Regions from separate parts of the Homo sapiens genome. Here region 1 is linked to region 2. The links are contacts of gene promoters, found by promoter capture Hi-C in blood cells and fetal thymus (Javierre and others, 2016). All regions are on one chromosome and are shown on one strand. The core of a region is centred on a gene start or on the middle of the fragment in contact, and the rest is flanking DNA. Distances in the headings are between cores, read along the strand shown.

Region 1 (2,700 bases), core at 134-2,633, 99 kb before region 2:
TTTCAAACAGCCATCATTCACCATTTACTTCCCATGCTTCCAAAAGTAAGCAACACACTCCAATTTTAAACTCCATAAATACTCTCTGGTGGCATGTTTTATATATTTTTGTTAATAAAAATAATAATAGATAAGGGCCCTTATATCTTTATCTTGCCTTCTTTTTTTCAGGGTGTCAGTGACCTTTATATGTCTTCTTTCAAAGGGACTTTTTAAAAAGTTTTCCCTAATTCTCTAAAGATCTACTCAAATGTTCTCCACAGTGCTTGGATACCTGACACCAAGCTGGAATACTGGAATTGTGTGTTAAATGTGTTTTTCTTCCAGTAGTAAAACAGCATAAGGAAGCTATCTCCCTGAAAAACTTTAGAGGTTTATATGAATTAATTTAAGGAGCTTATCCTATTCCACTCTACACTCGGGGCAACCACAATTGCAGTCGTTGAATGCACTGGGTGATAACATCTCTCCTCAGCACTCTTCTCAGAGCCTTAGCTACATCTTTATTCCGGAGAGTATAAATCAGAGAATTCAATGTGGGCGTAATGATGCTGTAGAACACAGAACCAACTTTGTTCTGCAATAGAGTGCACTGGGACCTGGGTCTCATGTAGGAGAAGATGCAGGCACCAAACCAAAGAGAAACCACCGTGAGGTGGGAGCCACAAGTGGCAAAGGCATTTCTCTTGCTCCCAGATGAGCGCATCTGAATGACACTTTGAAGGATGAAGACATAGGATGTAGAAATCAGGAAGATGGGGAGGAGGAGGAGAATGCTGCTGATGTACACTGTGGTCTCATACACAGTGATGTCGCCACATACCAACTTCACAACAGCTGGGAACTCACAGTAGAAGTGGTAGACTTTCCGAGGCCCACAGAAAGGGAAGTGCATCAAGATCGCCATGTGAATTAGGGAGTTCACGGATGCCCCCAACCATGACATGACAGCCATCATCAGTCCCACCTTCTTGTTCATGAGCACAGCATAGCGCAGTGGATGACAGATGGCAACATAGCGGTCATAGGACATGACAGCTAAGAGAAAACATTCAGCACCACCTAGACACAAATAGAGGAAGTGCTGGGTTGCACAGCCCACAAAGGAGATAGATTTCTTGCCAGATAGGTAGTTGGTAGCCATCTTCAGGATGATTGTGGAGACATGCATCAGATCCATGAGGGAGAGCTGGCTGAGCAGGAAATACATTGGTGTATGAAGCTGGGGATCAATGCAGATGAGGAGAATGGTGAGGGTGTTGCCACTCACCGCAATAAGGAAGACCACCATGGTCAAGGAGAAAAGGAAAAGGTGGGTAAGGGAGTCATCGAAGAGCCCCTCAAGGATGAAGTCTGCCAGAGAGGTCTGATTCTTCTGCCACATTGTCCCCTTTCTCAATCCCTGAGGAAACAGAGAGTGGAGATAAAGAGTGTGACTGGAAATACTGGGGTCCAGTATACCCAAGGAAAAGCACCTTTTGATAGAGGACAGAACCTGTGAAAAAAATTTCCGTTTCTAATTATTCAACCTCTCTAATTATTCAAATAACCTTTTTTTAAAAGAGAGCTTAGAAATCTGCCTTCACAAACATAATCACTCTGAAATTTCAGAATATCTGGACTCTATTATCAAACTTCAAGTCTCTTCTCGTTAAGAAAGATATATATGTGTGTGTGTGTGTGTGTGTATGTATATGTATGTGTGTATATATTTATTCCCCATTTACTTCCTAGGCTTCCAAAACACACATATGTATACACACACACACACACACACACATTTGTCTTTCTTAATGAGAAGAGACTTGAAGTTTGATACTTAATGGAGTCTAGATATTCTGAGATTTCAGAGTGATCATGTTTGTGAAGGCAGATTTTTAAGCTCTCTCTCTCTATACAGACACACACAGAGAGACAGTTTGGAGAAAAGCTTGGGGGCGTTGCTTATTTTATCAGTGAGGATTTTACTAGAAAAGCTATAACACTAAGAGATTTCTCTTATACAATTGTGGAAGCTGGTTAGGCAATCTATGCGTGGCTGTTACCTTTGTGTCTGATGCTGGAACTTTAATTCCAGAGGGCAAGTAGTCAGGAAAAAAAAAATGGATATAAAGAGTGGCAGATCAAAGTCATGCTGGAACCCACAAGCATGAGCTGCAATCCCACAAAGGCAGACTGAAACCCATGTCAGTTCTTGTTGTCTCTGAAATTGGCGGTGTGGATATCCTGCAGAAGCTGGGGCGCCTCTTTTTTTTTTTTTTTTTTTTTTTGAGTTGGAGTCTTGCTCTGTCGCCCAGGCTGGAATGCTGTGGCCCGATCTCGTCTCACTGCAAGCTCCGCCTCCCGGGTTCATGCCATTCTCTTGCCTCAGCCTCCGTAGTAGCTGGGACTACAGGCGCCTGCCACCACACCCGGCTAATTTTTTGTATTTTTAGTAGAGACGGGGATTTCACCGTGTTCGACAGGATGGTCTCCATCTCCTGACCTCGTGATCCCCCCGCCTCGGCCTCCCAAAGTGCTGGGATTACAGGCGTGAACCACCGCACCCGGCCGCTGGGGCGCTTCTTAATGGCCAGATTAAAAATGCACACACCTGGCCGGGCGCGGCGGCTCACGCCTGTAATCCCAGCACTTTGGGAGGCCGAGGCAGGTGGATCACGAGGTCAGGAGATGGAGACCATCCTGGCTAACACGGTGAAA
Region 2 (2,700 bases), core at 119-2,618:
TAACACAAACGATAAAAGCTTGAAGGGATGGATACCTCATTTTTGATGATGTGATTATTTCACATTGCATGCCTGAATCAAAACCTCTCATGTACCCCATAAATATATACACATACTATGCACCCACAGTTTTTTTTTTAATTTACAAAAAAATCAGTAGACCTTGAGTAAAGTGGATTACTCTCCATAGTGGTGGGCTTCATCCAATCAGTTGAAGGCCTTAAGAGAAAAAGCCTCAGATGTCCCCTAAAGAGGAAAGAATTCTGCCTACAGTCTGCCCTTGGAATCAAGACTAAGACATCAACTCTTCCCTGGGTCTCCAGCCTGCTGGCCGGCTCTGAAGATTTAGGACTTGTTACTCCTCCCAATAGTGTGAGTCAATTTCTTAAAATAAATCTCTACTCTCTCTCTCTTTTGTATACATATATGTAAATCTCTTCCTATGTGTGTGTGTATCCATGTGTATACAGTGTATGTATGTATGTGTACGTACATATATATGTATATGTGTACCACCTATTAGTTCTGTTTCTCTGGAGAACCCTGAGTAATTCAGATTTTGGCACAGAATCAGATTAACATTCCAAAGTGATTGTTATATAACAAACATATAACACCTTTTCTGACAATTTGTAAATGTCATGAATTTTAAACTCACACAACTGAGAAGCCATTCGCTTCCATGTCTTTATCCTGCACATTCTCATGCCACAAACAGCCTCCTTCCCTTATCCTAGGAGTGACTCTTGATCTCCCGGAGCTCCCACTCTCTTCTCTTCCAGCCACTCGCCTTCCAGACCCACTGCAGTGGTGTCTGAGTGTGGGATTTGGGCACGGGTTTCCTTCTAGCACCATCCCTCCAGCCAACCTGCCTTCCCACTTTCCCCTTGGGGCTGCTCTCTCTTTCCCTCAGCGTCAGGCAGGTGTACCCAGCCATCGGAAGGAGGGAAGGAACAGGAGCAGAAGCAGCTCCAGGCATATGGTTCCTACTCCGTCCTGACTGTCTACCCCAAGCAGGTCGCTTGGTCTTTGGAGTCTTTGTTTTCACTGTAAACTAGGGGTTTTAGATTCAGATTCCTGAAGGTCTTATTTCGGGCCAGCGCAGAGGCTCCCTGAATGCTCCTGGAAGTGTGTGAGCTGAGGGAGTTGACAGCCTTGGGCACCCATTCCTGCCGTATGCCAGGGTATCCCAGCTGCATCCAGCCTGTCTCCCAGCCACATGTCCTGTTCCTCACCTCCTTCCAGTCCTCTCCAGCACCCATCCCTTGCTTTCCCCACTCACCATCTTGGTTCTCCTGGGGGACAGCAGGACCCAGAAGCAGCAGCAGAGACAGCAGGACAGGCACCATTCTTACCATTGTGTCTGCTTGGAGGGTTCTGGGCAGGAGGCACAGATATTATCCTGGGTCCTGGGGCCCTGCCCAGGGGAGGTGAATCTACAGGCCAATGGGAGTGCCAGGACGGGCTCCTCCCCTAATAGAGAAAAAAAAATGATACACAAGCTAGGCTGGGCAGAGGTTATGAAGAATGAATCTACACACAGGATATGCAAATTCAGAGCTGAGTCCAGAGTTGATCTCTGGACTGAGGCTTTGTGTGTGCCTGGGGTGGAAGGATGCCAGTGGGTAGGAGGTGCGTGTGATGGGTGGCAAGCGCCTGGGATGTGTCACCCTTCCAGTCTATTGTGACAACCCCTGGGCCAGTAGGGGCATTTGTGTGTTTTTGGACCACACTGTATCCCTGCCTTCCAGAAAAACTCTCAACATGTCCAAGACATGGACCTGGGTAGACCCCAGCTGGGGTGGGACCCTCACTCTCCCACATCCGATCCTGCCAGAGGCTGTGTCTGGAGGACAGTCACATTCCCATCTCTCCCTCCTTCCTTTCTGTGCCTGTGGAATCCCAGCCTTCCATGATGGAAGCAGAAATAGCCGCATCCTCCTTTTGCAGCCTCCCTGGCAACAGAACGAGCCTCCCAAAATGCTGGGATTAAAGGCGTGAGCCACCACGCCCAGCCAAGATAATTTTTAATGCATACAACAAGACTCGTTTTACACAGACGAAGCCAGTTATTTGAAAACCAGGTCTTTCCAGGCACGCTCAGTGTTGATGGGCTATTTGCAGAGAGACCCTCCGAATACAAAGCAACATGCTATTCTAAAGTGACTGGGGCCCGGGTGCGGTGACTCATGCTTGTAATCCCAGCACTTTGGGAGGCTGAGGTGGTTGGATCACCTCAGGTTGAGGTCAGGTACTCGAGACCAGCCTGGGCAACATGATGAAACCTCGTCTCTACTGAAAAAATACAAGAATTAGCTGCGCGTGGTGGCACATGCCTATAATCCCAGCACTCAGGAAGCTGAGGCAGGGGTTTCACCATGTTGGCCAAGCTGGTTTTGAACTCCTGACCTCGTGATCTGCCCGCCTCGGTCTCCCAAAGTGCTGGGTTTACTAGTGTGAGCAACTGTGCCCAGCCTCTCTTTTGGTTAAAGAAACCTACAAAGGGACCTTTTATAGTGACTTCAATTTTATGGAATAATTGTAATGCTCCTAAGGCCGTTGTGCTCCAAAGTCTAGCCGCAGGTATTGTTATTGATTGGGCTCCAAAAGGGCATTATTGGCAAGATTGCTCCAGCAAAAATACCTCATGCTCAGAGTTTAATTATTTGTTAGATTATGTAGAGGATGGATGGCAGTCAT

What was found. Contacts are between HindIII fragments. The CHiCAGO score rates a contact against its expected background, and 5 or more counts as called.
Region 1: the fragment with the promoter of OR2AE1 here is called in contact with the fragment with the promoter of AZGP1 in region 2 in 2 of 17 cell types (erythroblasts and M1 macrophages); the score reaches 8.1 in erythroblasts.

Annotation. Positions count from the first base shown.
Region 1 is chr7:99,875,650-99,878,349 of GRCh38, forward strand. OR2AE1 (olfactory receptor family 2 subfamily AE member 1) reads right to left here and starts at 1,384. Exons shown (of 1, transcript NM_001005276.1): 1 at 413-1,384. The coding sequence starts at 1,384. The coding sequence ends at 413. The HindIII fragment of the contact is 12,247 bases long and covers 1-1,928 here.
Region 2 is chr7:99,974,663-99,977,362 of GRCh38, forward strand. It overlaps AZGP1 (alpha-2-glycoprotein 1, zinc-binding), which reads right to left and starts at 1,369. Exons shown (of 4, transcript NM_001185.4): 1 at 1,283-1,369. The coding sequence starts at 1,358. The HindIII fragment of the contact is 13,516 bases long and covers 17-2,700 here.